Linked DNA regions of Homo sapiens: region 1 is linked to region 2. Evidence: promoter capture Hi-C in 16 types of primary human blood cells and fetal thymus (Javierre and others, 2016). All regions are on one chromosome and are shown on one strand. Each heading gives the region's core, a stretch centred on a gene start or on the middle of the fragment in contact. The rest is flanking DNA. Distances are from core to core; before and after follow the strand shown. Region 1 overlaps FNDC3A (fibronectin type III domain containing 3A). Region 2 holds the start of ATP7B (ATPase copper transporting beta).

Region 1 (6,444 bases), core at 603-3,102, 3.0 Mb before region 2:
TTTGAAACATTGTTGGTGCATTTTTGAATGAAAATGAATCTAGATCGTGTCTTTGAGAATGGTGTAGGGATATGCACATGATTTCCAATTTTATTAGCCAGATAACTAAGTGATTAGTGTTTCTGGTTTTTTTTTGTTTGCTTTTGTTTTTTTTGTTTTGTTTTTAGCATTGCCTAGCGGACTTCAAATAAACTCACAATATTGTAATTCCGAAGGTTTAGAATATGGTGCATATTTATTCCATTGAGCCTTTTACTGCTTCAGTTTATCACATTGCAAAACAAGAAATATGGCTCCCATATGTGTGAATGTCAAAAACTACTTGTTAAAACGAAATTAGTGGCCATTAATGTTGAAAGGCAAATTTTGTACTTTTACATGTATTGTGAGCTTTTATAATTTTCTTAATATTTTGGTCTTATTTCAGATAATTATTCAGTGGTCTCTTTTTATATCTTTATTCTTACCTTTCTGTCTTCCCACTGTTGTGGTTTTGCTTGTCTTTAATATATACTTTCAAGTTTTCTGTGTAACCTGTGGTCTTCCATCAAGTTCCTTTGTGGGTGTCATCTTTCAATGTTTCCAATCACTTATCACCCATTACCAGTCCTTGGGCTATTTTTTCCTCCAAGATTGAGAACTACACCTGGGAGATGTCATGTGCTTGCAGGGTGATGCAATGTTATTAAAGTGGGGATACAAACATAGTGTGATGTCTTCCTTCCTTCAAGTAGTTTACAAATTAGTTGGGGGTACTAGACTAATAGTATCATTAGCAAAAATTATAATATGGTATTATTAAGTTGTGTGACACCAACTGGAATTTAAAGGGAAGTGAAGCCAGTGAGAGCTAGAACAATCCTGGAAGGCATTTGGAGGGAGTCAGAGGAAACTTAGAAATGATTTAGATAACAAAAGGAAAGGCATTCCAAAAGAGATTCACAGGCAGAGTTGGAAGTAGTAGTAGAATAAGTAGTCCAAGAGCATCCAAGGACAGAAATTGGGACGAAGAAAGAAAGAAAGTTAGGTCGAGATGTTAGCTTAAGCACCAGGGCATCAGAAGAGGAAAATAGGCAGAGCTGGACAAGACAGTTTGTATCATTAGGAACCTATCACTGAAAGAACTATACCTCAGCTTTGACATATTAATAGCTTAAGCTTTATGTATAATGGATAGCTTATATGTGTTTGTTTGTATGGCTTAGGTCAGGGGTCGGCCAACTTTTTGTGTAGAGTGCTAGATAATTAAATATTTTAGGTTTTGCAGGCCATTTACAGTCTCGGTTGAATGTTCTTGTTTGTTTGTTAGTTTTTTATAATCTTTTAAAAACGTAAAAATTTTTACATTGTTGTCTCAAGAGCCAAACAAAAACAAGCCATCTGTGGACTGGATTTGGCCAGGGGACCTAGTTTGCTGACTGCTAGGTAATAATTGGCAAAGTAATTGTCCATATAGCACATACTGTGAAATTTCTTGCATCATCTTGTCTATATGGTGGTTTGGGCGTTTTATGACTATCATGTATATATTTTTCCTTATGTTATCCTAAAAAAAAAGTATGTAGAAATAAGTGCTTCTGTAATTGTTATTTTGTGGCCAGACTTCTAACAAGAGCCTAGAATAGGTCTCAGAATTAGGAAGTGAAAGACGAAAAGCCTTTGAGTCAGGCCTTACTACAGTGAAAATAGCTACACAGTGGCTTGATTTAGAATTTGTATAAGGTTAGGTGTATCAACTGCCTGTGCTGGTTTTACATTTTTAAAAACAGCTGGCAGGTTAAAAACCTTGTCTAGGATGCTGGTGGTCTGTAAGTGACAACAGAGGAGCAGGCAGTAGGGATCTTTGTTTTTAGAAGTAGTCTAGGATGAGTTAATAAAGGGACAAGCAGTTGGACATTCTGCAGTACTCCAGAAAGAATCACTCTGTTATGGAACAGTCTAATAATTGATATTTACATTGATGAGCTTGAGTCATCAAGAAAAGATTATATCATGTGCACATTAAGGCACGGAAGAAAGACCTAGAGATCTCTTTACAAATAATTAAGATTTTTTTAAGATAAGTTATGGTGATTTAAAGGATATAAGTATCAGCTGTTTTGAAAAGTAATTTACATGAAACATCTCTGAAGTTTCTAAATTTATAGATATCTATTTCTAAGGCAGTTCTGTTTCCTTCAGTATACTGTGGTTCATGTGCCATTACCAGGTGAATAGTGATGCCTCACGCTGTGGCTGCACAAATCAATTGGCTGGGGCAACTGTATTTTTTGTGGCATCAAGAGAGCAAGAATACATCATGAGAGCATTTTTTCATTAAGCAGGCATCAGTACATTCCATATATCAGGGTTAGTATTAGGTGCTGGAAAAAGTACAGATGTATAAGATGGGAAGCAACCTGGACAGAATCAGTGATGCTTCTTTCTTCCTGTTAAAAACATTAAAACCAACCAAACAAAATCATGAAACTTAACTTTTGTACTTTAATTTATTATTAGCATTTTTCATACTTAGTACATACAGTACCGTAATTTTAAGGCAATATAAAGCTTTTGATTTAAATAACAGCCTTCATAAATTGCTACTTAATACAATTTTTACTTTTTAAATTTTAGTTTAAGGAGAAATTCATGCCCTCCCTCTTTTTTTGTGAATGCTTGAAACAGCTTCACCATGCCAGCTGTTTCCATTTGCTAAACAAGAGGTAAATTAAAGTACCTTGGATGGTGACTCAAAAGTCTAGTTCTTAGTTCTAACTTCACCACTTATTACCTATATGATTTTGGGTTAGTTTCTTGCAATCTTGGTTTTCTAAGCATTAAAATAGAGAATAATATCTATCCTGTTTTCCTCAAAGATATTGTGAGAACCCACAGAGATGTTGGAAACTATAAAAGCATTAAAATACATACCATAAAAGTGCTTACATTAATGCTACTATATTGGAAGCAATGCAGCCTTTTTTTTTTTTTAAGACCAGAGTTCAAGCTTTATCCTCCAAAGTTCTGTAAACATAGTATGTTTCCAGTAAACATTCAGTTGAGCTCATTGAATTTTAGAACCTATACTTGCTTATTTTTAAAATCCTATACAAACCTGCCAGATATGTGGTGGTATTCTCATTTTACAGATGAACTATACTTCTGATTGACTTCCATATCTCTTTCTCCTTCACTTCTTGAGATCTCTTATGTGCTAGTTGCTAGAAATACAAAGTGCAATGTATACTTTGAAGTAAGCCTTGGTGTAAAAGTTACCTAAGTTTGGTAAATTAGATTGTGTATGTTAATCAGCCTCTATCAGAAATGCTGGGGGAAAAAAAAGTGTTGTATCTGTTTTCTTTCCTCAGAATCCATATTTTAATATATATTTGAACTTTTAAAAACTTAAATGATTTCGCTTCACTACTTCTTCAGTGAGGGATTACTTTAATTGGTTTATGTATATTCTAAACCGACAGACACATAATTTGGGAGGCAAAAAAATCTTACTTCTCTAGGGGTTCTAAACAGATATTTAAGTACACTTTAAATCACAGTTTAGACTTTTATTAGAAAGTAATTACGTGCTTTGCTTTATAGAAGTATATGCCATATACAGCAACTACTTTTGTTGAGCCATAACTTGAAGGATTAGTCATTTCATTTACTTTAAAATCAGTTTTTCTTAAGATTTGCTTAAATAAAAAGTGAAAATTCATAATTTGCGATTTTATGTTTAAATTTTCTAAATTTTTTTTGTTTTCTTAAGACAGACATTCTCAATTATGTCTTTGTTCTTATGACTTGATTTTTTTCCATGTAATATTTTCATTTGTAATATATACCTAAAAAAAATTTTTAGCATAGTACCTTCATAGTTTATGAAGTACCTTTTTGTTTCTTTAGTAACTATTAGGATCAGCTTTTCCTGATGCTTCAGATTGGTATTCCTGAAATAGTATGTTCGCATTTTTGTTTTAATCACTTGAACCTTACTAAAACTGGCCTAGTGTGTGTGACAGAGTAGCCTTTGGGTAAAATGTAGGGGCTACTGCCCCTCTAACCATCTTTTAGGCTGCTTCCAGGATATTTAAAAAACATGAATTTATTCAGATCATTCCCCAGTTTTAGAAATCGAAATCACAATACAATTCCTGCTGCATTAATTATAATTTCCTTTGTCTTTGAGAGTCCATACTCTGTTGATATCCTATTGTGTCATCATTTCTTACCTCTTTACAACTTTGTGATATAGTGTAGAGAACATATTTCTCATTAGGCAGCCACAGGATTGTTAGTTGACTTCTCATACTGGCTGTATAGAAACATGAGTGTGCTACTTTACCTGTATGAGCCTTGGTTCGTTCATTTTACAGTGTAGTAATAATAGTAGCTATCTCCTAATATAGACTGTACAAGAATTAAAAGATCCTATTTAACATGACAAGTAAAATGCTTGCCATAGGATATTTATATCTAGAACTTTGACAGACATACCTAATCATTGTCACTCAGGCATCCTGCATATCATTCATTTATTCATTTGCCTATCATTTGTTGAACATTTAAAATGTCCTAGATACTTAGAATATGAATGTTGAATGTCACAAAAATGAATGTCACACTCCCTCCCCTTTAGAAATTTACAGAATGGGATGAGAGATAATGATATGTAAATAAATACATATTTTTAAATAATTAAAATATCTTGTGTCTTTTCACTTGTGTGAGTCCTTCCTGTCTTTTAATATTTAAATGCAAAATGTTTCCATAATACCCACAGAATATCTGGGTTGTATATATCATACTGTAATGTATATATATTTTTTACTTGTCTAAATCAGCTATTCAACTATGAACTCCTTGAGTTTGACCAGTACTACTGGAGTCAGCAACTTTTTTAATATAAGAGAAGGTAGTAAATATTTTAGGCATTGTGGACCATATGGGCTCAGTTGCAACTACTTAAACTGTGCTACAGGAGCACAAAAACAGCCATAGATAAATTATAAACAATGGGCATGACTGTGTTCCTATTAAACTTCATTTACGAAACTAGGCAGCAGACCAGATTTGGCCCACAGGCTTTAGTTTGCCAACCTCTGCAATGGTGCATGCATATACTTTTATTTGTGCTTGACAAATAAAAGGCACTTAGTAAATAATATGATTAATAGGCATTAAACACTTTCTGTATTCTGGGTGCTATTGCAAAAAACTTTATATGTATCAGTTTACTTAAGCCTTAAAACATCTCTCTGCGGTAGATACTATTATCACCAAATGTCATAGAGTAATAATAGAAGCACTTTCATTAATAGATAGGAACACAACATTGGTTCAAAAGTCTTAGGCAATACATTAAGAACAAGAAAAATAATTAACCTGTAAATAAAGGGGGGAAATGTATCACTATTATTTAGAGTTGATATGACTGCTTACAAATACAAATAAATATAATACAAATACAAATAGCAAAAAAATATGAGATAACAGAAAAAGATTTGTATTAAAAAATTTCAGTAAGCTGATTGGCTATAAGATAAAGTTAGAAAATTCATTAGCCTTCTTATATATCAACAATAACCAACTATGAAATACAGTAATAAGAAGTAGCAGCCTAAACTATAAAATACTTAAGATTTTAAAATGTGTAATAGCTATGTGAAGAAAACTGCAAAAAGATGTGAATGGATGGAGGAGTATTCATGAATGTGTCAACTTAATGCCATAAAAATGACAGCTTTTACTAAATTATTCTATAAAGTCAATGCAGTTCTAATCAGAAATTCAACAGGAGTTTTAAAATGGAATTTGACAAACTGATGGTTCAAGTTTTGAGAAGGGAGCATGCACAAGAATGGCCAAGTAAATTTCAAAAAGAAGTATAATAAATGGGACCCATCAAAGGTCGAAACATTATAAAATTACAATTATTAAAATAAGAATTTGGAGTAGGAATAGGCATATTGATCAAAGGAATAGAATAATAAATTCAGGAGAAGATCCATAGATAAACATGGATAAAGAAGAATTGTATGATAAATGAATGAGTAATGGAAGAACTGGTCTATAAAGGGTGTGGGACAATCAACTGTTTAATTGAAGTAAAGATAGTTAGGTACCCACTTCGTGACACTCTCAAAACTAAGTTCCAGGTGGACTAAATGGTTTTTTATTTTTATTTATTTATTTATTTTTGAGATGGAGTCTCGCTCTGTCACCAGGCTGGAGTGCAGTGGCGTGATCTCGGCTCACTGCAACCTCCGCCTCCCAGGTTCAAGCGATTCTCCTGCCTCAGCCTCCCAAGTAGCTGGGATTACAGGTGCCCACCACCACGCCCAGCTAATTTTTGTATTTTTAGTAGAGACGGGGTTTCACCATGTTGTCCAGATGGTCTCGATCTCTTGAGCTTGTGATCTGCTCGCCTCAGCCTCCCAGAGTGCTGTGATTACAGGCGTG
Region 2 (5,745 bases), core at 1,023-3,522:
TTTCACCTCAAAACAGACTTATTGGAAATATTTTGAGATGGCCGTTCAGAGGGCCTACAGACAAAAGTAGTCCTACTGTGAGGGAGATGAGCATCTGTTGAGAACCTCCATTGACGCAGCCAGTTTTTCTCAGAGGGCCCTTCCTTGTCTGGATCTGGGTGAGATTAGCTGAATTTGGCACCTTCAAGGTCTGAAACATTTCTTCTCCCTGAGGGCTGCTACCTGTGAGGTTTCATCTACATAAGACCACCTTTGCTAGCCAGGTCTCCTCTTCTCTCCCTCCTATAACCTGATTTACAACCATAACCTGTTTTTGGCCAAGCTTAGAGCCCCCACACTTTCTGTAACCTCAGGATAGTATAATTGTGGCAACCACCTTGCCTTCCTTTGAGATCTTATGTTGTAAGACTCTCACGGCACGTTAGTAAATGTGTATGCCTTCTCTCCTATTAATCTGCCATTTGTCAGTTGATTTTTCAGTGACGCTTCACGGGGCACAAAAGTTTTCCCTTAACTCCTACGCTATACATTTGTTTATCCCTTTTTTTTTCCTATCTCCAACTAGGATGTAAATTCATGAGGGCAAGGTCTCGGTCCTACCTAAATCCCCAGTGTCTAAAACTTTGAGTACTATGTGTTTGAGCACATAGTACACACAAAAAAATTTGTTGAATAAATGTTGATAACAAGATATAATACCTACATCAAAGGGTTTTTGTGAGGATTAAACGCGAGAGTGCACATAGAGGGATATGAGTGCCTAACACAATGCCCAGCACACAGTAAGCTCAATAACGCTGGTCAACGCTATTATCAGAGGATTCCAGAAGACAGGTCAACATGGGCAGGAGCAGTTACAGAACGTTTCAAGGAGGTGGCAGGTCTTGAGCTTGATTTGGAAGGATAATGATTTCTTTCTCTAGGTGGGGACACTGTAGGAAGTTGAAATCTCCTCTGTACAAGCCACCCCTCCCAACATTTCTTCATACTCCTATCAAATGCATAGTCATCATACCCTACAAACCACCTACTAACCAGCCTCTCTCTGTCTGTCCACTAATCCGTTAGTTTTCATTTCTGTATCACCGGAGCCTAGATGAATTCACTACTAAAGGGCACCCAGCAACGTCAGTGAATTAGTTTCAGAAATCTGTGGAAAAGAAACAGCCTACTGTTCTGTCCAGCAATCCAGGCCTAAGTATCTATCCTAAAGAAATAGTGTCAGCATTAAAAATCATGTACAAAGATGTTCACTTGCAAGAGAGAGAGAAAAAAAGTAGCAAACAGAACGTCCACCACTAGGAAACCATGAATAAACTATGATGCGTCCAAACTGTGCAGAGGTTGCACTGAATTAGACAGTTAGTGAAACAATCTCTAAGATATATCGTTAAACTGAAAAAAGAGAATGCACATACAGTGATCTCATTTAGGTAAAACAAAAATTTTAACACCTCATACAAATGAAACCTAAAGATTTCTCTGAATGTGTGCATATTACATATAGATACATGTCTTGTTAACCACTGTATCAACTCAACACTGTGTGCCTGAAACATAGAAAGTTCTCAATAAATATTTGCCGAATGAAGACATATGTACGTGAATAGAAAAAGACTGAAAAATAGATCTGCTTTTTGTGCAAAATATTTCTGTGCTGTTTCCATTTTTAAAAGACTGTCTTAATGTATTACTTGTACAATTAAAATGAATTTAAAACAGTTATAAAAGTTCCAGGACCTCGATATACCATATCTGGTCCAAGCACCAGGCTCTGAGTAACTTCTCCAGGTAACTAACTTCATCGTTTTGAGCCATTAGGGCTCTAGCACAGCAACTCGACGCTCACTTTATCTCTCCAGCATCAGACCCCTTAAAAGCATAAAGATGAATTTTGAGGTGCGGGGTTTTCCATTGCTCCCAAACATCAGTTGACGGCACACTTTTTCTAAAGGGTCCTTTTCTCCCACGCCAAGACATCCCTGGAGCTGGGGTCTGGCTCGGCCTTCCCTGCGCACCCCCTGGGGGCGAGTAAGCGCCGAACGCGGGGAGGAAAATCCTCCTGGTGGGAGTGAGCACGCTGCGCGGACGCGGGGGAACAAAACTCACTTTCCGACTGGCCCCTTCTCTGGCTGTGATCTGTCTCTCCTGCTCAGGCATCGTCCCGCACGGACACCGAATTCTTCTCTGATCTGGCTCAGAGCAAAAGGTCACCTGGTCGGTGGAGGAGAGCGGGGTGTTAAAGTCCCGGGAGAGGAGGCGCAGAGTGTGAGGGCATCGGCGCGGCTCGGCTCTAAAGCAAACAGGGGTCCGGGAACCGCCCCTTCATTTGGGACCGGGGAAGCCGCAGCCCTCTTCACACGGATGATTCAAAGTTGCGCGCCGCCGTCCTCCCGACCTGGGGGCACGGGGATGAGAGCGTGAGGGGAGAGTGGGCCTCGGACCCTCGCCCACTCCCCAGGTGGCTGGGAGTGCCCACCCTGGAACTGCCGGCCCCGCCGGTGCCACAGTGTTCTCTGCCGTGCCAGTGCCACAATGTCCTCTGCCGTGCCGGCGCCGCAGGGCGGAGGCCTGTCCTCCTCCGCGGTCTCGGCCACCTCGCGCTGGTGCGCTCCGACACTGTACTGGGATCTCACGCGTGTGCGGGAGCGGGAGGGCAGGTGAGCTGCGCAGAGCCGGGCCGCAGACTCAGCTCCCAGGGCTCACCCACCGCCTGCGGGGAAGGTGCCCGGCGGCGCCGCGTCGGGTCCGCTCTGCGCTGCCCCCTCCTCGGACTCTGCGCCTGGCTGCCGGACGCCGTGGGTCCCAAAGGAAGCAACCGCGGCAAGAGTGAACTCCGCACCTGGAAAATCGATCCGCTGTGCGCAAAGGCCAGCCAATGGCCTCCAACGGGCGGCGGGCTTTGGGCCGGGAACGGGGGCGCAGGCGCCCAGGCGGGGGCTTCTAGTGGGGGAGGTGGCCGAGGGAGGGAGCGACGGCTGTCAATCACAGGCCACGCCCTCCTCAGCCCAACCCCCCACTGCTGTCCCGCCCACGGGGGCGGGAGCCGTGTGCGCCACGCCGAACACTAGTCTACGCCTCGGCATATTCTATTGGCTGGAAGGCCGTGGGAAGCGGCTACCAGTAACCAATAGTAACGCACAATTGGCCCGTGGGGGCGGGGCGAGCACGGCTTGCTTTCTCAGGAGCCAATAGGGAAAAGGAAAGTGAAGCGTTTCCTGAGTTCGGGGGTCGGCGGAAGATGGCGGCCGGCGAAAGGAGCTGGTGCCTGTGCAAGTTGTTGAGGTGAGCAGCCGGTCGTGTGGGCTCACAGACGTTTTCTCTTCTGTAGGGGTACTTGCCCGTCCAGTGTAGCTAAATTTTGCGGGCAAATGGCCTTCCTTGTCATGAATCTAAGGTAATTTCTCAGGCCAATGAGCAGTCTTTCTTTTTCTTGGGGGTCTTCTATATAGACTGGAATAGACTAGGTCTTAAAGACTCAATTTACCGCGTTTTCTTCTGCTTCACTGTTGGCCGAGGGGTCGAGTTCCCTTCCCTGCTTCAGCTTTTTTTTTCCCTTTCACACTCCAGTTAGTCTGTCATAAATTATTCATATTCATTCCTTATTTTTCTTTACGATTGAGCCACGAGACATTTTCCAATCTATCATGTCTCTTTTCGGTAAAGAAGAAACCGGATCTTCCTTCTCATCTTAGTTTCTACTCTTAAACTCACCAAAACTGCCATTGTTAACACGTCACTTAAATATAAAGCTTATGTTGAATCCTCTGCTTTTTGATAATCTGTTACTTTAATTTTTATGATGTAAGAAGTTACATAAAATATTATTTTATTTGTATTACGTGTATATGCTGTTTCTTCTAGAAAAATTAGAAAATAGATAAGTAAAAGGAAAAAACCCCAGGAATGCTACCATCCGGAGATAGCCACTGTTAACATTTTGGTGAAAAAACTCCCAGGCTTTTTTCCACCTTTGTTGTTGTAGTACTACTGTATTTTAAATGCCTTGCCCTCCACTAATAAAACAGAAGGCCTAGTATATTCTACCTACCTAGTTTTTTTACCACCTACATATTTTTGTTCAGGCTGAAAATTTATAATTAACACCATAGCTTCCTGAATAGCAGTATATACCTAATTCTTTCAAAAGTTCAGGCATTTCTTCTTCGTTTTTGTCCACTCTACTTCAAATTCTGTAATCATTACTTTAAACATTTTGAATGAGAAAGTCTGTTATCAGAGCCTTTTGGTTCTTCCCTGTCATACGTAATATTCCTCAGTGCTTTACATTATAATGTTTAAATAAACTCACTAACCAGACTTAAAGGACAGGTTTAACTTTAGTTATTATGCAGCTTTTAAGTTAAATGTTTAATAGTTCAGTTTGAAAAGCTTGTCACATGAATTTTCCCACCTAAATTATTTGAAGGAATTGCCAGAAAAACCTTTACATTATATGGGTCAGCTGCATTTTAAATAAGCTTTTGAAAGAGTGTCCTGAGAAAGCAAACTGTCCTCTGTAGTGTTGCTTTTATGAATTCATATATTCCAAATGTTAAATAAATGATAAATCTTACCACTTTTGTCAGACTCTGTTCATCCTTTAAGGCAGTGGTTCTCAAATTGTGCTCCATGGACCATGCAGGTCCCAAGGCCCTTCAATGGATCCTCAACAAATCTGTTTTTATAATAACATTAATGTAATATTTGCCTATTTTACTATGTTGATAAGTGCAAAAGTGATAGCGGATAAAACTAAGTGATAGTGGATTTTAATTAACAGTGTGAAAAGGTCATTGATAGGGTTTCAGAGTCTGTATTGCAACTGACATTAAGAAACTGCATAACTTGTCAAATGTGGTCTAGCATCAGAGAAGAATATCTGTAACTAGCTGAAAAGTTAAATATATTTTAAACATAAGATCAATATATATTAAAATATACTCCCTTTTCCTACTACATGTCTAAGTTAGCCTGAATTTTCTTCATATACTTCAACAAAAACAACATATCACTAGATTGAATGCAGAAACAGAAAGGAGGAGCCACTATCTGGTTTCACGTTAAGCCAGACATTAAAAAGATTTGCAAAAAGTGTAAATCATTGGCACCCTTCTTGCTAAATTTCTTTTTTTGGTTTGGAAAAGATAGTTTTTTAATAAAAATATGTTAATGTGTTATGAAAGAATTTTTATTTTCAAATGAATTCATAAAAAGTTTAAAGTTCTTTAGTTTTCATTTCTAATATGCTAAATATTGGTAGATATAAGCAGTGTAAACCACTGGTTCTCAACCAGGGGTGATTTTTGCCCTTCGCAAGACATTTGGCATTTGGCAATATCTGGAGGGCTTTTTTTTTTTAATTTTTTTTTTAGAGATAAGAGTCTTGCTCTGTTGCCCAGGCTGGAGTGCAGTGGCATGATCATAGCTTACTACAGCCTTGAACTCCTGGGCTCAAGCAATCCTCCCACCTCAGCCTCCCAAAATGTTGGGATTACAGGCATGAGCCACCATGCCCAACTGATAATTTTGATTGGGAGGGTGCTACTGGCATCTAAGTGGGTCAAGACCAAAGATGCTACTAAATATAATACATAGGACAACCTCCGCAACAAATAATTATTTGGTCCAAAATGTCAGTAGTGTCAAGGATGAGAAACTCTGATGTAAACAAAAGCTCTATTGTATCCTCAGTAAAATTTTTAAGAGTATAAAGGTGTATAAAGAATATAAAGACCAAATTAT

Evidence for each region. Contacts are between HindIII fragments. The CHiCAGO score rates a contact against its expected background, and 5 or more counts as called.
Region 1: a contact is called between a fragment that was not itself captured here and the fragment with the promoter of ATP7B in region 2, in 1 of 17 cell types (fetal thymus). The highest score is 6.5, in fetal thymus.

Annotation. Positions count from the first base shown.
Region 1 is chr13:48,978,521-48,984,964 of GRCh38, forward strand. All of the region lies in intron 1 of FNDC3A (fibronectin type III domain containing 3A), which reads left to right. Among named protein-coding and RNA genes, the nearest start is that of FNDC3A, 5.8 kb to the left of the region's middle. The HindIII fragment of the contact is 1,392 bases long and covers 1,157-2,548 here.
Region 2 is chr13:52,009,178-52,014,922 of GRCh38, forward strand. ATP7B (ATPase copper transporting beta) reads right to left here and starts at 2,273. Exons shown (of 21, transcript NM_000053.4): 1 at 2,110-2,273. The coding sequence starts at 2,160. It overlaps ALG11 (ALG11 alpha-1,2-mannosyltransferase), which reads left to right and starts at 3,221. Exons shown (of 4, transcript NM_001004127.3): 1 at 3,221-3,285. The coding sequence starts at 3,242. RefSeq lists silencers at 2,480-2,819, 2,870-2,979, 2,990-3,089 and enhancers at 3,210-3,339, 3,390-3,479. The HindIII fragment of the contact is 3,430 bases long and covers 321-3,750 here.